6 separate regions of the Homo sapiens genome follow, and all the other regions are linked to region 4. Evidence: promoter capture Hi-C in human tissues and cell types (Jung and others, 2019). All regions are on one chromosome and are shown on one strand. Each heading gives the region's core, a stretch centred on a gene start or on the middle of the fragment in contact. The rest is flanking DNA. Distances are from core to core; before and after follow the strand shown.

Region 1 (3,210 bases), core at 73-2,572, 630 kb before region 4:
GTCAGCCTTCAGCCACATGCCCCTCCCCTCCCGTCCAGCCTGGGTCTTTTCAGTGAGCAGCCCTATTCCCTCAGCTCCCGAGGGGCTGCCAAGCCCTTAGTCACCTCATTAGCACACTGGAGAATTCCGAGGATCTGGGGGAGTCGTAGGCCAGGAAACAGGACAAAATGTATTTCACAGTCTCACTGGGCCGGTCCCTTGCCTCCGCTTCCTTGTCTGTGATGAGAGGACGGGAGGGTGGCTGTCTGGACAGTGCTGAAGTGGTAGAGGTGAGTCGCTGCCGTGGAGGGCTTGGCAGGGTGCTCTGTGAAGGGCCCTGTGGCCTGGGGTGGAAGCCGCTTGCAGAGTGCTGGTTCTTTGCCTAAGGATGGTGGGGCAGGGGGGCCGTGTTCACACGTGCTGTTGGCTGTGTCTGCCAGTCTTCCTTTCTTTTTTCTGTTTCTGTTTCTTTTTCTTTGTTTTTTTTTGTTTGTTTGTTTGTTTTGAGACAGAGTCTTGCTCTGTCGCCCAGGCTGGAGTGCAGTGGCACGATCTTGGCTCACTGTAACCTCCGTCTCCCAGGTTCAAGCGATTCTCCTGCCTCAGCCTCCCCCAGTAGCTGGGATTACAGGCATGCACCACCACGCCCAGCTAATTTTTTTGTATTATTAGTAGAGACAGGGTTTTACCATGTTGGCCAGGCTAGTCTTGAACTCCTGACCTCAGGTGATCCGCCTGCCTCAGCCTCCCAAAGTGCTCGGATTACAGGCATGAGCCACCATGCCCAGTCTTCTTCTTCTTCTTCTTCTTTTTTTTTTGTGAGATGGAGTTTCACTTTGTTGTCCAGGCTGGAGTGCAAGGGCACGATTTTGGCTCACTGCAACCTCTGCCTTCTGGGTTCAAGCGATTCTCCTGCCTCAGCCTCCTAAGTAGCTGTGATTACAGGCATGCGCCACTGTGCCCGGCTAATTTTTGCATTTTTAGTAGAGATAGGGTTTCACCTTGTTCACCAGGCTGGTCTTGAACTCCTGACTTCAGGTGATCCACTCGCCTCGGCCTCTCCGAGTGCTGGGATTATAGGCGTGAGCCACGGTGTCTGACTCAGTCTTCCTTTTCATGTCATCCCTTGTTAATTTCCTTTAGAAACAGTTTGGGCCAGGTGCAGTGGGTGGCTTATGCCTGTCATCCAAGCGCTTTGGGGGGCTGAGGTGGGAGGATCACTTGAGGCCAGGAGTTCAAGACCAGGCTGGGCAACATAATGAGACCCAGTCTCTACAAAAAAATTAAAAGCTTAGCTGAGCATGGAGGTGGCACCTGTAATCCCAGCTACTTGGGAGGCTGAGGCAGAAGGATCGCTTGAACCCAGGAGGTTGAGGCTGCAGTGAGCCACGATTGCACCAGTGTGCTCCAGCCTGGGCAAAAGAGTGAGACCCTGTCCCCGCCCCACAAAAAGAGGGTCAGAACCTTGGTGTTAGAGCAGTTCACTTCCACCCAAAAACAGGGACTTAGAAAGGGAGACACTTGTGTGGAGCCCGAGGCAGACATGCCCTGACTTAGCAGTGCAGGTTTCTGTACTGGAATGAGGGCCTGGGGCAGGTGGCCTCTGGCAGGATGCATCTGTTACCTGAGTCTGAAGGCAGCGTGGCGAGGAGATGGGAGGGCTGTGCCTGGGATCCTGGGGCCGTGGAGAGCTCATCTAGAGGTCATGAGTATTGGGCAAAGCTCACATGCCGTGTTTTAATACTGTCATTATGGAAGTTGGCCTGGGGGTAATCCAGTGTCTCTTTTAGATCTGTGTTGTACAAACACTGAACTAGTTCTGGTCGCCTCTCCGGCCTTTGTTTTGGGGAGAATATTCGATGAGATGGCCCGTAATTCTAACACTGTGCATTTTGAAGGATATTTATAAACCCGGATGGATAAGGCCCTTCTTAGTGCTATTCTTGTGTTGGTTCCCTTTATTATTTTTTTTAAAAAACTTTATTATGGGCCGGGTATGATGGCTCACGCCTATAATCCCAGCACTTTGGGAGTCTGAGGTGGGCGGACCACCTGAGATCAGGAGTTCGAGACCAGCCTGACCAATATGGTGAAACCTCGTCTTTACTAAAAATACAAAAATTAGCTGGGCGTGATGGCGGGCGCCTGTAGTCCCAGCTACTAGGGAGGGGACAGGAGAATTGCTTGAACCCAGGAGGCGGAGGATGCAGTGAGCTGAGATTGTGCCGCTGCACTCCTGCCTGGGCGACAGAGTGAGACTCGGTCTCAAAAAATAGTAAAGCAAAAAATAAAAATAAAAACACTGTTATGGAGAATTTGACTACACAGAAAGGTAGACAACATGGAATAACGAGCCCCCCAGGCCCCTCACCCAGCCCCAAAACCATCAACCCATGGCAACCCCCCCTGCCCTACCCCCATCTGTGGTGAAATAGCCCTCATATTATTTTTGTTAACTTTTAATTTTTAAAGAATTACAGAGGCTGGGTGTGGTGGCTCACACCTGTCATCCAGGCACTTTGGGAGGCAGAGGTGGGAGGATCACTTGAGTCCAGTAGTTCGAGACCAGCCTGGGCAACACAGTGAGACCCTGTCGCTACAAAAGCAAAAATAAGAATGAATTATAGACTGCCAAGGTGTTGCAAAAATAATAAAGAGATTTCCCTAGGCTTCACCCTGCTGTCTCCAGTGGTAACATTTTACATAACTTTAGTGTCCCGTTAAAACTAGGAAATTGACACAGGACACTGTGGCTTCAGACCTTCCTCAGGCGTCCTCAGTGTTAGCACTGGCTCATTCTTTTGGTAGAGTCTTTGCGACATTCTGTTACCTGCACAGATTCCAGGAACCACCATTGCAATCAAGATACAGAACTGTTCTGTCAACACAAAGGAACGCTCTGCTTCTCCCTTCTGTCACCCCCAGGCCCTGGCGACGGCTGAGGATCTCTGCATCTCTGTAACCTTGCCCTTTTGAGAATGTTATGTAGATGGAATCACAGCGTATTTAACCTCTTGGGATTGGGTTTTTTCGCTTGCAATCTGTCGAAGTTGTTGTGTGTATCAGTAGTTACTTTCTTTTATTACTCAGTAGTTCTCCATACGGGTGTTGTTTTCTCATTCTGCTTATTTCTGTGAGACGGGTGGCAGTGGTAAGGTCCCATCTTTCATTCCCGATTTTAGCAATTTGAGTTCTCCAGAGATGGAGGACAAGATCCAAGGTTGCCAGGGC
Region 2 (3,394 bases), core at 692-3,191, 830 kb before region 4:
CTCAGCCTCCCGAGTAGCTGGGACTACAGGCGCCTGCCACCACGCCCGGCTAATTTTTTGTATTTTTAGTAGAGACGGGGTTTCACCGTGTTAGCCAGGATGGTCTCGATCTCCTGACCTCGTGATCCACCCATCTCGACCTCCCAAAGTGCTGGGATTACAGGCGTGAGACACCGCGCCCGGCCGGCATGAGATAACAATTCTGAATGAAGACGCTGTTGAACATCTTGGTTGTGATACTGGCTACATAGCTGCATGTTTGTCACACCTGTTCTCTTTATTTATTTTTATTTATTTATCTTAGAGACAGGGTCTCCCTCTGTCACCCAGGCTGAAGTACAATGGTGCAATCACGGCTCACTGCAGCCTTGACCTCCTAGGTTCAAGCGATCCTCCCACTTCAGCCTCCCGAGTAGCTGAGACAACAGGTGCACGCTACCACGCCCGGCTAATTTTTCTATTTTTGTAGAGATGTGCTATGTTTCCCAGGCTGGTCTCGAATTCCTGGGTTCAAGCAATCCTCCCACCTCAGCCTCCCAAAGTGCTGAGATTACAGGTGTGAGTCACCTTGCCCGGCCAAACCTGTCCTCTTTATTAAAAATGCATTTTATTGTATATATATTACACCTCGAATAAACTTTAAAAATAAAGAATTCGGGTCACCAAAGATTTCTTTTTCATAATATAATTCATTGTTGTCAAAAAATGCCAGGGAATGGATCACCTTACAACTGCTAGAATAGCTATCATCAAAAAGACGAAAGGTAACAAACGTTGGCAAGGATTTGAAGAGAACACTTATACACTACTGATGGTAATTTTAATTAGTATAGCCATTATAGAAAATGGTATGGAAGTTCCAAAGAAAAATTTAAAAATAAAACTACCAGGTGATCCAGGAATCCCACTTCTGGGTCTTTATCCAAAGGAATTGAAGTCAGCACGTCAGGCCGGGCATAGTGGCTCACGCCTGTAATTCTAGCACTTTGGGAGGCTGAGGCGGGCGGATCTCCCAAGGTCAGGAGTTCGAGACCATCCTGGCCAACATGGCGAAACCCGTCTCTACCAAAAATACAAAAATTAGCCGGGCGTGGTGGTGGATGTCTGTAGTCCCAGCTACTCGGGAGGCTGAGGCACGAGAATCACTTGAACCCGGGAGGCAGAGGTTGCAGTGAGCCGAGATTGCGGCATTGCCCTCCAGCCTAGGCAACAAGAGCGAGACGCTGTCTCAAAAACAAAAACCAAAACCAAAAAACCCCACAAAGTTATTGAAAGAAATAAATAAAAATAAATACGTAAATAAAAGAAGGAAATTCTGACACATACTAGAATATACATAAATGTATGTAAATGAATAAATGAATATATGAATGTGAGAATAAGAAGTGAGCGCGTCATTTTTTACCGTTCTCCCAGCTCAAAACGTTTTCGCCCCGTCCAGCTTTTCGGCCTCCTCCGGGCGCCCCCTGCCGGTGGGCCGCTTGCCCGTGCTCCAAGCCCAAAACAGACGCGTCCCCTCTAGTCGCTTTTAGCCTTCGGTCTCGGTCCTGATTGGCTCAGAGTCGCTCGTGATCCCTTTTGGGAAATGTAGTCCTTAAGGGTATCGCGCCTGCTTTTTCTATACGCTCTGACGCAGAGATAGCCACGGGAAGTACGTCACCAAATTTCGCCGGTTCCCACAAGCTAGGTCGTGTGACGCTGCATGACGGGAATTGTAGTCCTCAAATTGCTAGCTTCCGATGCCATGCGCTGCGACTGGAACGCCAATTCCCACCATGCCGCGCGCTCACAGCTCTCAGGGGCTGTCCTGTGGCCTTTGGGGAAGTGTAGTCTTGAGCCCCCAAGATTCCTTTTCTGTTCTATGGAGTGGGCCCGCGCAAAGGACTCCATTTCCCGGCGTGCTGCCATCCGTCGGGTCGCGGCAGCCATTTTGTTCCGCCCGAGGAGACCCTAAGATGGCGGCGAGGGGGACGGTGAAGGTTGCCTCCCGCCCGTCCGGGCTCTGATCCTCCGTCTCCCCGTCCCCCGGCGGCCGGCCCATGGCCTGGCGGAGGCCCGAACCATGGACCTCCGCACCGCCGTGTACAACGCCGCCCGTGATGGCAAGCTGCAGCTGCTCCAGAAGCTGCTCAGCGGCCGGAGCCGGGAGGAACTGGACGAGCTGACGGGCGAGGTGGCCGGCGGGGGAACGCCGCTACTCATCGCCGCCCGCTACGGCCACCTGGACGTGGTGGAGTACCTGGTGGACCGGTGCGGCGCGAGCGTGGAGGCCGGTGGCTCGGTGCACTTCGATGGCGAGACCATCGAGGGCGCGCCGCCGCTGTGGGCCGCCTCCGCAGCCGGCCACCTGGACGTGGTGCGGAGCCTGCTGCGCCGCGGGGCCTCGGTGAACCGCACCACGCGCACCAACTCCACGCCTCTCCGCGCCGCCTGCTTCGACGGCCACCTGGAGGTGGTGCGCTACCTGGTCGGCGAGCACCAGGCCGACCTGGAGGTGGCCAACCGGCACGGCCACACGTGCCTCATGATCTCGTGCTACAAGGGCCACCGTGAGATCGCCCGCTACCTGCTGGAGCAGGGCGCCCAGGTGAACCGGCGCAGCGCCAAGGGCAACACGGCCCTGCATGACTGCGCCGAGTCCGGCAGCCTGGAGATCCTGCAGCTGCTGCTGGGGTGCAAGGCCCGCATGGAACGTGACGGCTACGGCATGACCCCGCTGCTCGCGGCCAGCGTGACGGGCCACACCAACATCGTGGAGTACCTCATCCAGGAGCAGCCCGGCCAGGAGCAGGTCGCAGGGGGAGAGGCTCAGCCTGGGCTGCCCCAAGAAGACCCCTCCACCAGCCAGGGGTGTGCGCAGCCTCAGGGGGCTCCGTGCTGCAGCTCCTCCCCAGAGGAACCACTGAACGGGGAATCTTACGAAAGCTGCTGTCCCACCAGCCGGGAAGCTGCCGTGGAAGCCTTGGAATTGCTGGGAGCTACGTATGTGGATAAGAAACGAGATCTGCTTGGGGCCCTTAAACACTGGAGGCGGGCCATGGAGCTGCGTCACCAGGGGGGCGAGTACCTGCCCAAACCGGAGCCCCCACAGCTGGTCCTGGCCTATGACTATTCCAGGGAGGTCAACACCACCGAGGAGCTGGAGGCGCTGATCACCGACCCGGATGAGATGCGCATGCAGGCCCTGTTGATCCGGGAGCGCATCCTCGGTCCCTCGCACCCGGACACTTCCTATTACATCCGTTACAGGGGTGCCGTGTACGCCGACTCGGGCAATTTCGAGCGCTGCATCCGCTTGTGGAAGTACGCCCTGGACATGCAACAGAGCAACCTGGAGCCTCTGAGCCCCATGACCGCCAGCAGCTTCCTCTCCTTCGCGGAACTCTTCTCCTAC
Region 3 (3,293 bases), core at 512-3,011, 720 kb before region 4:
GTCTCAAAAAAACGAAAACAAAAAATAAACAAAAATTAGCCAAGCATGGTGCCATGTGCCTGTGGTCTCAGCTACTCAGGAGGCTGAGGTGAGAGGATCGCTTATGCCAGAGAGGCTGGGGCTGCAGTGAGTTTTGATCACACCACTGGCCTCTAGCCTGGGCAACAGAGCGAGGCCCTGTCTCAAAAATAAATACATAAGCCAGGCCTGGTGGCTCATGCCTGTAATCCCAGTACTTTGGGAGGCCGAGGTGGGCGAATCACGAGGTCAGGAGTTCGAGACCAGCCTGGCCAACGTGGTGAAACCCTGCCTCTACTAAAAATACCAAAAATTGCTGGGCATGGTGGCGGGTGCCTGTAATCCCAGCCACTCAGGAGGCTGAGGCAGGAGAATCGTTTGAACCCGGGAGGCGGAGCTTGCAGCGAGCCGAGATGGTGCCACTTCACTCCAGCCTGGGAAGCAGGGCGAGACTGTGTCTCAAAAAATAGATAAATAAATAAATAAGATACAAATAAATAAATACAGAAATAAATTAAATTAAATTACACTTTGTTCAGCCAAGTGTTGGCCACGTGTTCTGCTTGACTGCTTAATACCTGGGAATATCCCCACAAACACATTTTGCAATGGACATATAATTTCCCCGACAACTCAGCAGACTCTCTGACATTTGTTCAGATTTCAGATCTGACCTGGTGGAACTGGGGACTAGTTATTCCTTCTCTGGAAGGTCTCCCTTGCTCTTCTACCTCCACTATCTTTCTTTTTTTGAGAGGGAATCTCGCTCCGTCACCCAGGCTGGCGTGCTGTGGTGCGATCTCAGCTTACTGGAACCTCCCCTTCACGAGTTCAAGTGATTCTCTTGCTTCAGCCTCCCAAGTAGCTGAGATTACAGGCACGTGCCAGCACGCCCAGCTAATTTTTTGGTATTTTTTGGTAGAGATGGGGTTTCGCTATATTGGCCAGGCTGGTCTCAAACTCCTGACCTCAAGTGATCCACCTGCCTCGGCCTCTCAAAGTGCTGGAATTACAGGTATGAACCACTGTGCCTGGCCCACCTCCACTGTCTCTCCCCATGAATGCAGGACTGCCTACTTTGTCTCCTGGGGTTTTGCTGTCAGAGTGAAACTTATCTGTAAAAGAATAAGACTTCTCAGAGGCCTCTCAAAGGCAGTTGTTGGATTGAGCATTTTCCAAGGAGACTACTTTGAACCTTCATTTTGAATATCGGGGTTCCGATCAGCTCCTTATGTCTTGTTATTTTTGCGTTTTGTGTATCTGATGGTCATTGTTCTTCATGGCCTCCCTCCTAGGGAGAAATCAGGCCACTCCCTATTTCTGATAGCCCTAGAGTTTTGTTGATTGACTCTCGGATGTGTTTATTTTCCAGACCCAGGTTCCTGTCATGGCTAGGGGTGGCTGTTGGCCTCGTCCTTACCCTCCACTGGGAATGTCTTTGTCTTATGCACGTAGTCTGCCTTGTTGTTGCAAATAACATTTCTGCTATAATCACAGGATGCCCCGGCTTCTTCACTCCATTCGACGTAACCCCTTCCCACGAGCTCCACCTTCACTATGGGGTCCACCAGGGTGCTGTTCAGGGTTAAGATCACCTGCCCTTTTATGCTGGAGCCAGCCAGGTAGATTCTATCCTCGGGCAGCACTAATTCGATCGACTTCACCACAGACATGGGGGGTTGGGGGGTAGAGAGACATTCCTCTCTGTCCCCCATGTCCCTGAAATTCCCGGTTCGTTGGCCCTAGTGAGGTAATCCATCTATGACATCACTCAGCTCAGAGTTCCGGGAAGTGGGGACCCCAGTGGCCAGGAGGGGAGGCAAAACTGTTGTTTAGGGTGGGTGGTTGATTGGGAAACCTGTAGTCCTCACTGGTTCTTTTTTTTTTTTTTTGAGATGGAGTCTTACCCTGTAGCCCAGGCTGGAGTGCAGGGGTGCCATCTTGGCTCACTGCAACCTCCGCCTCATGGGTTCAAGCAATTCTCCTGCCTCAGCCTCCTGAGTAGCTGGGACCACGGGTGCATGCCAGCATGCCCAGCTAATTTTTTGGTAGAGACAGAGTTTCACTGTGTTGGCCAGGATGGTCTCGATCTCCTGACCTCGTGATCCACCCACCTCAGCCTCCCAAAGTGCTGGGATTGCAGGCGTGAGCCACTGCACCTGGGCTTTTTCTTTTTTTGAGACAAAGTCTCATTCTGTCACCCAGGCTGGAGTGTAGTGGCGCGATCTCGGCTCACTGCCACATCTGCCTCCCGGGTTCAAGCAATTCTCCTGCTTCAGCCTCCTGAGTAGCTGGAATTACAGGCATGCACCATCACCATGCTTTGCTAATTTTTTTTTGGTATTTTTATTTATTTTATTTTTATTTTTTGTGATGGTCTCACTCTGTCAGCCAGACTGGAGTGCAATGGTGTGATCTCGGCTCACTGCAACCTCTGCCTCCTGGGTTCCAGCGATTCTCCCACCTCAGCCCCCCAAGTACCTGAGATTACAGGCAAGTGCCACTGCAACTAGCTAATTTTTGTATTTTTAGTAGAGACGGGGTTTCACCATGTTGGCCAGGCTGGTCTCGAACTTGTGGCCTCACATGATTCGCCTGCCTTGGCCTCCCAAAGTGCTGGGATTACAGTTGTGAGCCACTGTGCCCAGGTGCATACACACTCATTTTCATCTTAAAGACTCTACATTTATATTGGTCTATATTGGAAAAAACATAGAGATATGGCCAGGACCTGAAATCTGGTGCGCACTGAAGTTGATCAGGGCAGTGTGTGCTTAATCTGAACATCGACACCATCAGGAAGCAGCAACTCCCTGCATGATTGACATTTCTCTTTTTTTTTGAGGTGGAATCTCACTCTGTTGCCCAGGCTGGAGTGCAGTGGCGTGATCTCGGCTCACTGCAACCTCTGCCCCCTGGGTTCAAGCGATTCTCCTGCCTCAGCCTCCCAAGTAGCTGGGATTACGGGCATGGGGGTTACAGGCACCTGCCCCCGTGCCCGGCTAATTTTTGTTCTTTTTGTTTTTGTTTTTGTTTTTTTTTTGAGATTGGAGTCTCACTTTGTCACCCAGGCTGGAGTGCAGTGGTGCGATCTCGGCTCACTGCAAGCTCCGCCTCCCGTGTTCATGCCATTCTCCTGCCTCAGCTTCCCGAGTAGCTGGGACTACAGGCGTCCGCCACAAATGCCTGGCTAATTTTTTGTATTTTTAGTAGAGACGGGGTTTCATCATGTTAGCCAGGATGGTCTCAATCTCCTGACCTCGTGATCCGCCCAC
Region 4 (3,217 bases), core at 670-3,169:
GTAAAAAATAGGCTGAGTGCAAATACCCCAACAATCTACTTTGGACCCTAGCAAAGCTGAGTTCTATTCGGTCTCAGGTTGGTGTCCTTTTCTTTGGGTTAAGACCTATTTTTTGAACCAGGAAGGAAGCCAAGTAGGTACATTTGGTTCCTCAGACCCGTAGAAGTAGCTTTAAGAGCTTGTCTTTCTCTAGTTGACTTTTAATCCCAATGGCAGAAGCTGAAACGTTTTTCGTATATTTTAATTGCACTTGGCACCTGTACATCTCTTTCCTCCTCCCTGTGCCCTTGACAGAGCTACCTGTTAGGTGGTGACGAGCAAAGCTAACTCTTAGTGGAGGGACACCGAGTACCAGAGAAATTCTCCCAGCCTAGAAGGCGGGAAGAGCACACTACACACCATTTCTCTAAATTCTCTGAACACTCAAGCCCCAAGCAGCATATGTACAATACCTTTAACACATCTCTTGGCTGACTTCTTGCTGGTGGCTTCTAACTCGATGCCAATTTCATCAGGATCTTGCCCCTCTTCTTTAACCGCCTATTAGGGAGAGATGAGTTTTACAACATCATTAAGAGCTGCAGGGCACACACTGTTCCTTACAAGTAACAACCTCCCATGAAACAAAGGCAAACCCGTCCTTGCAAAGAGCAACTCCGGGTCAGCTATCTGGGCCGCAAGCCCAAAAGGCGGAGGAGGAACCCCGCACAACTTGGGTCTCTCTGGGTCCAAATGACAAAGGAGAGGGAGGCTGTGAGCAGGAGCTCCAGAATTGGGGTCAAGGACCAGTTCCAAAATGGCAACTCAACTCGACAATGCCAAACCTTCGACTTTAAAGTTATATGATGGGACAAATTAGAACAGAGAGGCTGCACTTGGCCCGGCCTCGGTGAAGGGCTGGCCACCGCTGGTGAGGAGGAACAGCAGCCAGCCTGGGGAGATTCAACAGGTCCCTCAGTGCCTGCCACCTGCCGGGTCCAGGACTGGGTACCCACAAGCTCCCTCCCTATGCTCAAGTTGTTTGTTCCAGTTGCGGAAACAGACAATTCCCAACCCCTTAATATTTTGCATTTAGCCCCTGCTTTCAGCGAGGTGCGACACAAACGCAGGATGAGCTGGCAAGGAGGTGGGGCAGCGCATTAGGAAGGGCGCTCAGGAAGGTGATGTCTCAGGCAGACCCAAAATGACAACAAGGGGCCGGCCACGAGAAGATCTGGGGGACCCGGGTGGACAGCTTCGTAAAGGCCAAAGCCCTGGGGCAAGAACAAGCACCGCCCCCTTTCCTGTAAATGCTCTGGAGTCCGCCAGACACCCATTCTCCGGAGGAGGAAACTGAGGCACAGAGAGAAAGGCACCTGCCCAAGGTCACAGAGCCAAGGCTCGATCGGGAGCCCCAGGAGGGGTCCCGGGGCCACCCTGGTAGCGGAGAAGACCGCACGCTGAGCGCGCTTGAGGAGAAAAGGTGGAAAGAGGATAGGAAGGGAGGCACAGAGAGGAGCGGTGACGGGCCAAGGTCACACAGCCGGCCCCCTGGGTGCCCGACACCTCGAACCGGGGTCGGCCAAGACGCGGGGCGAACCCAGGGCGCCCCGGGTCCGGGAGCCGCGGTGACAGGTGCAGGCGGGGGCGTGCCCGGGCCTCCTGCGCCACCCCCGAGCCCCGCGCCGCCTCACCTTCTTGAGCCGCTCCATCAGGACGCTCTTGTTGCCGCCCGTGTCCAGGTTCCGCTTCTTCAGCTCCGCCCGCAGATCGATCACCCGCAGCTCGCTGAGCCGCCTCGTCCCAGTCTCCGCAACGCCCGGGCCGAGAGAAGCCGTGCCAGGGCCCGAGTCGCCCGACCCGGGCAGAGTCTCCGCCATCGTCGCGTTCCCGTCTTCGCCACCGACTCAGTCGCACACCGCCGGCAGCTATAGCGGCTCTGAACACAAAATGGCGCCGCCTAAGAGGAAAACGCACTCGTTTCCTCCCGCCCCGCTTTGCGGCCGCGCACGCGCACGCGCACCGCCCCCACTAGCGTACTTAGCAGCAAGGACGCTCGCGCGTCCACCAACCGCGGGTTCCCCGGCACAACGCGCAAGCGCTGAATCTGCAGCTCGCATGCGTCCCGGCAGTTCCCGGCGGGAGGCTGACGAGACGCAACGCGTCTGCGCACATCCCCGCGTTGTTCTCACTGCGCATGTGCAGTTGCAACCGGGATACTAGAACCTACGCTTGGTGCGCCTGCGCAGAAGCGAGGCGCGCTGGGGCGACTGGAGCGGTTCCCTCGCAGGCGGCGCCATTTTGTGCTAGGAGCCTGATAAAACCGGCCCGGTTCTGTGGAAAGTGGGCGGCGGAGCCAGGGTCCCTGGAATGGCGGAGACTCTGTCAGGCCTAGGTGATTCTGGAGCGGCGGGCGCGGCGGCTCTGAGCTCCGCCTCGTCAGAGACCGGGACGCGGCGCCTCAGCGACCTGCGAGTGATCGATCTGCGGGCGGAGCTGAGGAAACGGAATGTGGACTCGAGCGGCAACAAGAGCGTTTTGATGGAGCGGCTGAAGAAGGTGGATTTGGGGCCCCGAGGGCGGGCACAGGGTGGGTCTGGGGTCCTCTTGGCCGCGACGGTGGCTCGCGGGCCCTGGCGTCCGCCCCCGGCCGCGTTCGCGGCCTCGCCGGACCTGGCGCTCTCGCGTCCCCCGGCTCCTCCGAGGCCCCGGAGAGAGTTCCTTGGCCGGCTGGGCCTGGGTTCAAATCCTAACGCCGCAATGGGGCCAGGAGAACCACAAAAACGGCACGCGTGCAGGAGAAACGGTGACGGGTGACATCGTCCACTGAGAGGAGGGTTCTCCCCTCGTCTCGTCCCCTCCTCCGTACCTGGAGGGGAGACCCTGAAACCCTCACTTCCCAGGCGAGGGGAAGGGACTCGGCCAAGGTCACACGGCCGAGGACGGGCAGCGTCGGGATTTGAACCCAGGCCCTGGGATTCCTGATTCGGCTGCTTGGTTTCCCCAGGGAAGATGCTTTGTGACCCACAGGGGACCGACCAGCCTGAATCGGGGCTGATTTACAAAGGAAACACCCGTAGGACATACTCAAAGGGAAAAATAGAAAAAAACCCACCACAATCCAGTTTTCACGGTTTGCCGGTACTCGCTCGGTGAAGTAACGTGGCAGGAAGGAAAAGTGGTGTTGACGGTAGTGATCAGAAATGTGAAATGAGGGGAGACCCCGGGTGGACTTTAA
Region 5 (3,400 bases), core at 862-3,361, 680 kb before region 4:
GCATAAAGTCATTTGTATTATTTCCTTATTCTCTGATGCCTGAAGGATCTAGTGAGATCCCTGTTTTATTCTTGGTGTTGGTAATTTATGTTTTCTTTTTATTTTTGTCAGTCTTTACCAATTTTATTTTTGAGGATCTTAGACCTTTCCCTCCCTTCTCATTTATTTGTACAGCAAGAATAAGACAGTTTTTTTTTGTTTGTTTGTTTGTTTTGAGACAAGGTCTCACTCTGTCACCCATGCTGGAGTGCAGTGGCGTGATCTCAGCTCACTGCAACCCCCAGATCCTGGCTTCAAGCGATCCTGACCTCAGGTGATCCACTCGTCTCGGCCTCTCAAAGTGCTGGGACTACAGGCATGAGCCACTGCACCTGGCATAAGAGTTTTGTTTTGGTCAGGTTTTTTTTTTTTTTTTTTTTTTTTTTTTTTTGAGATAAGGTCTTGCTCTGTTGCCCAGGCTGGAGTGCAATGGCAAGCTCTCAGTTCACTGTAGCCCCAACCTCCTGGGCTCAAGCAATCCTCCAACCTCAGCCTCCCACGTAGCTGGGACCATAGGCGTGCACCACCATGCCTGACTAATTTTTTTTTTTGTTTTTTGATGAGACAAAGTCTCGCTCTGTCACCCATGGTGGAGTGCAGTGGCACGATCTTGGTTCCCTGCAACCTCCACCTCCCGGGTTCAAGCGATTCTCCTGCTTTAGCCTCCCGAGTAGCTGGGATTACAGGCGTGCTCCACTGCACCTGGCTCATTTTTTTTTGTATTTTCAGTAGAGACAGGGTTTCACCATGTTGGCCAGGCTGGTCTTGAACTCCTGACCTTAGATAATCCACCCGCCTCAGCCTCCCAAAGTGCTAGGATTACAGGCATGAGCCACTGCACCCGGCCATTTTTTTTTTTTTTTTTTTTTTAATTTTCGGTAGCAATGGGGGTCTGGCTAGATTGGTCTCGAACTTTTGAGTTCAAGTGATACTCCTGCCTCAGCCTCCCAAAAGGTGCTGGGATTATAGGTATGAGCCACTATACCCAGTCTTAGAATATGTTTTTCTTTCTTTTTTTTTGAGACGGAGTCTTGCTGTTTGCTGTCTCACCTAGGCTAGAGTGCAGTGGTGCAATCATAGCTCACTGCAGCCTTGAACTCCTGGGCTGAAGCAATTCTCCTGCCTTAGCCTCCTTTTCCTTAACACTTAATTTGTTGAGGAATCCTGGTCATTTGTCCCAGGAGTTCCAAATGGCTCTATCCAGACTGTAGAGATGACCAGGAGATGTCACTTGCTGTGTGCGTCTGTGCTACCTGTGAGCTGGTAGGTCAGTGTGTTCCCACACTGTCCCATAGCCAAGAGCCACCTGTGCTGTGCTTGAAATGTGGCCAGGAGGAACTGGAATGTACTGTGAGTGTAAAATACACATGGGTGCCAGGCGCAGTGGCTCATGCCTGTAATCCCAGTACTTTGGGGGGCCGAGGTGGGCGGATCACAAGGTCAGGAGATCGAGACCATCCTGGCAAACACGGTGAAACCCCGTCTCTACTAAAAATACAAAAAATTAGCCAGGCGTGGTGGCGGGTGCCTATAGTGCCAGCTACTCAGGAGGCTGAGGCAGGAGAGTGGCGTGAACCCGGGAGGTGGAGCTTGCAGTGAGCCGAGATCGTGCCACTGCACTCCAGCCTGGGCGACAGAGCGAGACTGTCTCAAAAAAAAAAAAAAAAACACATGGGCTTTCAGAGACCTGGTACAAAAGAAGAATGTAAAGTAGCTCATTAATAACTTTTTCATATTCATTCCATGTTGAAATAATCTTTTGTCTACACTGGGTTCTATGGAACATATTCCAATTACTTCCACCTATGTTTACCTCTCAAACGTGCTTATTAGGAAATTTAGAATTACATACACAGCGTGTGTTCAAGTGCTGTTTCCCTCGGACGTTGCTGATGGGGATGTCGGATTATTGATCTCGGGGGATCAGTTTCACTCACAGGAGTTCTTGTATTTTGATGTAGGCCATTGGATCAAGCGTTGCCTTTATGATTTTTTTTTTTTTTTTTTTTTTTTGAGATGGAGTCTTGCTCTGTCGCCCATGCTGGAGTGCAGTGGCGTGATCATCTCAGCTCCACAACCTCCATTTCCCAGGTTCAAGCGATTCTCCTGCCTCAGCCTCCCGAGTAGCTGGGATTACAGGCACGGGCCACCATGCCCAGCTAATTCTTGTATTCTTAGTAGAGACGGGGTTTCACTATGTTGGCCATGCTAGTCTCGAAGTCCTGACCCTCGTGATCCACCCACCTTGGCCTCCCAAAGTGCTGGAATTACAGATGTGAGCCACGGTGCCCAACTTGATTTATTTATATATTTTTTTGATGAGATGGAGTCTCACTCTGTCGCCCAGGCTGGAGTGCAGTGGCACGATCTTGGCTCACTTCAGCGTCTGCCTCCTGGGTTCAAGCAATTCTCCTGCCTCAGCCTCCTGGGTAGCTGGGATTACAGGTGCGCGCTACCATGCCCAGCTAATTTTTGCATTTTTAGTAGAGACAGGGTTTTACCATGTTGGCCAGGCTGGTCTCGAACTCCTGACCTCAGATGATCGGCCTGCCTCGGTCTCCCAAAGTGTTGGAATTACAGGTCTGAGCTACCATGCCCGGCCAACCTTTATGAGTCTTGCTTGTCGGTTCTTGTGGATTTGGTGCTCCTTAGCCAAAGGTTCAAACTCATTCTTCCCAGGGCATCCTGCAATGAAACTCTGGTTTCTGTGTTTTGTTTTTTTTTTTTTTTTTTTTTTTGAGACTGAGTCTTGCCCTGTCGCCCAGGCTGGAGTGCAGTGGCGCGATCTTGGCTCACTGCAACCTCTGCCTCCCGGGTTCAAGTGATTCTTCTGCCTCAGCCTCCCGAGTAGCTGGGATTACATGCGCGCTTCTCCAAGCTCAGCTAATTTTTGTATTTTCAGTGGAGGCGGGGGTTCACCATGTTGGCCAGGCTGGTCTCGAACTCCTGACCTCGGCCTCCCAGTGTTGGTATTACAGGCGTGAGCCACTGCGCCCTGTTCCGTTTCATGTTGCTTCTGTGAGTGCAGCTTTGATTGCTAGGGGGCGTAGCTGAGCTGTTGCCCCAGGCATCCCGAGAACCCGTGGTGTTCAAGTGCTGTGAGTAGATTTAGGGGCCTCGGCAGGCCAGAATGTTCCAGCGTCCTCGTTCCTTGCAGGGATGATTCTCTGAACGACTGTCGGATCATCTTCGTGGACGAAGTCTTCAAGATTGAGCGGCCGGGTGAAGGGAGCCCCATGGTTGACAACCCCATGAGACGTGAGTTCTGAGCCAGCCTTTCCCCATCTTCCGCGGTGGGCACGGGGCGGGGGCTCTTGTCCCGTCTCTGGCTTGGCCGGGCCCCGCCGGAGCTGACCCTGCC
Region 6 (3,488 bases), core at 644-3,143, 580 kb before region 4:
CCTTATCCCGCGTGGTGTTTATCGGAGTGGGGTGTCCACCTTATCCCACGCGGTGTTTATCGGAGTGGGGTGTCCACCTTATCCCACGCGGTGTTTATCGGAGTGGGGGTGTCCACCTTATCCCGCGTGGTGTTTATCGGAGTGGGGTGTCCACCTTATCCCGCGTGGTGTTTATCGGAGTGGGGTGTCCACCTTATCCCACGCGGTGTTTATCGGAGTGGGGGTGTCCACCTTATCCCGCGTGGTGTTTATCGGAGTGGGGTGTCCACCTTATCCCGCGTGGTGTTTATCGGAGTGGGGTGTCCACCTTATCCCACGCGGTGTTTATCGGAGTGGGGGTGTCCACCTTATCCCGCGCAGTGTTGATCAGTTCATCCGCTGACGGACATTTGGGCTGTGTTCTCTTTTTGGCTATTTTGAATAATGGTGCTGTGAACGTTTCTTGTGTGTTTGTTTCTTTGTCTTTGAGACAGAGTCTTGCTCTGTCACCTAGGCTGCAGTGCAGTGGCGCAATCTCAGCTCTCTGCAACCTTGCCTCCTGGGTTCAAGCGATTCTCCTGCCTCAGCCTCCCGAGTAGCTGGGATTACAGTGTCACATGGAGTCATCCCACCACTCTAATGATCCCCTGAGCTCCCCCTCGTCATTCCTCCCTCTCCCCCATCCCTCTCCTGCGCCCCAGGCAACCACTGATGTCTCACTGTCTCCATAGCTCAGCCTTTTCCAGAATGCCGTGAGCTGGAATCCTACAGTCGGTAGCCTTTTCCCATTGGCCTCTTTGACCAAGCAATAGGTGTTCAAGTTTGCTCCATTTTTCATGGCTTGAGAGCTCATTTCTTTTCAGCGCTGAATAATACTCCATGGTCCGGGTGCACCACAGTGTGCCTGCTCATTCACCTATTAAAGGACCCTTCCAAGTTTGGTCAATGTGGGCAGAAGTTTTCATCTCCTTTGGGTAAATACCAAGGAGTACAGTTGCTGGACCACGTGGTGAGAGGACGTTTAGTTTTTTAAGACGCCACCAAACTGTCCTCCCGCCCACCTGTCCCACTGTGTGCTCCTAGCAGCAGCGAATGAACGTTCCCAGGGCCCCGCTTCCCCGCCCCCATCTGGAGTTGTCGGTGTTGTGCATCCTGGCCACCCTGGGAGGCGTGTTGCGCTGTCTCATTGCCATTTCAATCTGCATTCCCCCGATGGCTGCCTTCGCGGCGGGGCCCCTTTGCATGCCTGTTTGCCATCTGTGTGTTTCCTTGGTGAGCTCTCTTCATGTCTTTTGCCCAGTTTGTTGTTGTTGTTGTTGTTGTTTGAGATGGAGTCTCGCTCTGTTGCCCAGGTTGGAGTGCAGTGGCGTGATCTAGGCTCACTGCAACCTCCACTTCCTGGGTTCAATCATTTCTGTGCCTCAGCTTCCCAAGTAGCTGGGATTACATTACAGGCGCCCACCACCACACCCAGCTAATTTTCTTTCTTTTTTTTTTTTTGAGATGGAGTCTTGCTCTGTCACCAGGCTGGAACTACGGTGCCCACCACCACGCCCAGCTAATTTTTGAATTTTTAGTAGCGATGGGGTTTCACCATGTTGGCCAGGATGGTCTCAATCTCTTGACTTCGTGATCTGCCCGCCTTGGCCTCCCAAAGTGCCGGGATTTACAGGCATGAGCCACCATGTCCAGCCTAATTTTTGTATTTTTAGTAGAGACGAGGTGTTGTCATGTTGGCCAGGCTGGTCTCAAGCTCCTGACCTCAGGTGATCCACCTGCCTTGGCCTCCCAAAGTGCTGGGATTACAGGCGTGAGCTACCGCGCCTGGCCATCTTTTTCTGTTTTTTAACCATGCTGTTTGTTTTCTTCTGGTTAAATTTGAGAGTTTGCTGTGTATTTTGGTTATCAGTTGTGACTTGCAAGTATTTTCTTTCTGACTGGGGCTTGTCTTTCTCTTACGGATCCTGCCTGATTGTTTTCAAGTGAAAGTTCAGCCTCAGACTCCAGTGCATGAGAGCCTCTGGGTTGGCTGGCCTGCACTGCCTGCACTTGGCCTGTAGTGATGACCCGGGAGGGACTCTGCAGCCGCACGCAGGCTGTGCCAGCCCAGGCCGACCTGCCACAGGTGCCAGGGGAAGCTTCAGGGCTTCCTTGCCATGTGTTTGCCATGCCTAGCCTATGCACTAGCCTACTTTTACAGCGGGGGAAACAGCCCACAGCAGAGAAGCGACTTGCTGTGGTCCCAGGATGAATTTGCGCCCAGCTCAGCCTGTGCCTGGGGCCTCCCTCTGCCCCATCTGGGTCTCATCACTGCCTCCCTCCTCACCTCTTCTGGGCTCCTGCCAGGGCTCACCTTGCAAAGGAACCGCTGGTCTTGCCAAGTCTGAGGGCCGGTCGTGCAGGTGCAGGAACAGCTGGTGGGGGGTGGATTCAGGCTGTGAGAGCAGCTCACGTTCATGTGTGTCTGGGCTCCTCTCGGCCTCTCAGCAGGCCATGAGCCTCTCCGGGGACTGCAGTGACTAATGTGTATTTTATGAGCTCTTGGGACAGGACGGGGTTTGTTTGCTTGTGGCATTAAGAATAGATGTGCCTGGTGGGTGGGGATTCCGTCCTTGTTTGCCTAGTTCTGAAAACTGTCTTCGTCTCCTCGGTCAGAAGCTGTGGAAGGGCTGTCACTGGGCCTTGGCTCCGGTACCATCGCTGGGTTAGCCCCAAGTGGTGACTGTTTTTCTCCTTCCGTGTCATTGACTTAGAGGCGTGTTAATTATGCACTCCCAAACTGCAGGCTTCACAACAAGGCCTCCACCCAGCAGGAAGCACGCAGCTCAGTGGAATCTGACAGGCCCTGCCTGCCTGGTGCACGCTGGCATGTGCGATGGGGCCCTTCCTGGAAGGGCCAAGCTGGCGGTGAGCCCTTCAGAAAAGGTGTCTGGGCTGGGTATGGCGGCTCATGCCTGCAGCCCCAGCGCTTGGAGGGGCCAAAGTGGGAGGGACCATTGAGCCCAGGAGTTCGAGACCAGCCTGGGCAACAGAGTGAGACTTCATCTCTACACAGAAAAAAGTAAAAATTAGCCAGGTGTGGTTTCTCACGCCTATAGCCTATAGTCCCAGGTACTCAGGAGACTGAGGCTGGAGGATTACCTGAGCCTGGGAGGTTGAGGCTGCAGTGAGCTATGATTCTGCCACTGCACTCCAGCCTGGGCAAGAATCTCACACAGGTTAAGACCAGCCCCTGGTCTGCAGGGTATGACCGGCCCCTGGGGGGGCCGCAGATACTGGGGTGGAGGAGGATGGGCAGCGACCCCTGGGACTCTGGGGAGAATTAGCCTGCACCCCAGGGCTCGCAGGTTCTGGGGGTGGCCGGGCGGTTGCCGACGCTGCTCTGCCGCCCCACAGGACGTGGCCCAGTGGAACATCGGGAGCCTCCGGACCATCCTGGACATGGTGGAGCGCGAGTGCGGCACCATCATCGAGGGCGTGAACACGCCCTACCTGTACTTCGGCATGTG

The links. The method cuts DNA at HindIII sites, captures the fragments that hold promoters and counts their contacts. A contact is called where the count stands out against the background at its distance.
Region 1: a fragment that was not itself captured here is called in contact with the fragment with the promoter of SAFB2 in region 4 in 2 of the 25 tissues and cell types used here (dorsolateral prefrontal cortex and lymphoblastoid cells).
Region 2: the fragment with the promoter of FEM1A here is called in contact with the fragment with the promoter of SAFB2 in region 4 in 1 of the 25 tissues and cell types used here (dorsolateral prefrontal cortex).
Region 3: a contact is called between the fragment with the promoter of ARRDC5 here and the fragment with the promoter of SAFB2 in region 4, in 2 of the 25 tissues and cell types used here (dorsolateral prefrontal cortex and spleen).
Region 5: a fragment that was not itself captured here is called in contact with the fragment with the promoter of SAFB2 in region 4 in 1 of the 25 tissues and cell types used here (dorsolateral prefrontal cortex).
Region 6: a contact is called between a fragment that was not itself captured here and the fragment with the promoter of SAFB2 in region 4, in 1 of the 25 tissues and cell types used here (dorsolateral prefrontal cortex).

What each region holds. Positions count from the first base shown.
Region 1 is chr19:4,988,872-4,992,081 of GRCh38, forward strand. All of the region lies in intron 1 of KDM4B (lysine demethylase 4B), which reads left to right. Among named protein-coding and RNA genes, the nearest start is that of KDM4B, 21 kb to the left of the region's middle. RefSeq lists enhancers at 1-175, 176-680, 897-1,398, 1,399-1,898. The HindIII fragment of the contact is 6,577 bases long and covers 1-3,210 here.
Region 2 is chr19:4,789,793-4,793,186 of GRCh38, forward strand. It overlaps FEM1A (fem-1 homolog A), which reads left to right and starts at 1,942. Exons shown (of 1, transcript NM_018708.3): 1 at 1,942-3,394. The coding sequence starts at 2,063. LOC124904620 (a long non-coding RNA gene) reads right to left here and starts at 1,500. Exons shown (of 2, transcript XR_007067103.1): 1 at 1,406-1,500. RefSeq lists enhancers at 1,595-2,252, 1,763-2,032, 2,253-2,909, 2,563-2,622, 2,910-3,394. The HindIII fragment of the contact is 32,697 bases long and covers 1-3,394 here.
Region 3 is chr19:4,901,135-4,904,427 of GRCh38, forward strand. ARRDC5 (arrestin domain containing 5) reads right to left here and starts at 1,762. Exons shown (of 3, transcript NM_001080523.3): 1 at 1,439-1,762. The coding sequence starts at 1,691. It also overlaps a transcript of UHRF1 not described here. The HindIII fragment of the contact is 23,961 bases long and covers 1-3,293 here.
Region 4 is chr19:5,620,857-5,624,073 of GRCh38, forward strand. SAFB2 (scaffold attachment factor B2) reads right to left here and starts at 1,920. Exons shown (of 21, transcript NM_014649.3): 1 at 1,674-1,920; 2 at 453-540. The coding sequence starts at 1,859. It overlaps SAFB (scaffold attachment factor B), which reads left to right and starts at 2,227. Exons shown (of 21, transcript NM_001201338.2): 1 at 2,227-2,538. The coding sequence starts at 2,350. RefSeq lists silencers at 320-540, 1,545-1,664, 2,635-2,684 and enhancers at 459-1,191, 1,665-2,004, 1,925-2,657, 2,658-3,217. The HindIII fragment of the contact is 5,746 bases long and covers 1-3,217 here.
Region 5 is chr19:4,938,332-4,941,731 of GRCh38, forward strand. UHRF1 (ubiquitin like with PHD and ring finger domains 1) reads left to right here. Exons shown (of 17, transcript NM_001048201.3): 6 at 3,197-3,297. Among named protein-coding and RNA genes, the nearest start is that of MIR4747, 7.3 kb to the left of the region's middle. The HindIII fragment of the contact is 9,189 bases long and covers 1-3,400 here.
Region 6 is chr19:5,044,101-5,047,588 of GRCh38, forward strand. It overlaps KDM4B (lysine demethylase 4B), which reads left to right. Exons shown (of 23, transcript NM_015015.3): 6 at 3,376-3,488. Among named protein-coding and RNA genes, the nearest start is that of KDM4B, 77 kb to the left of the region's middle. RefSeq lists an enhancer at 2,514-3,317. The HindIII fragment of the contact is 4,426 bases long and covers 1-3,488 here.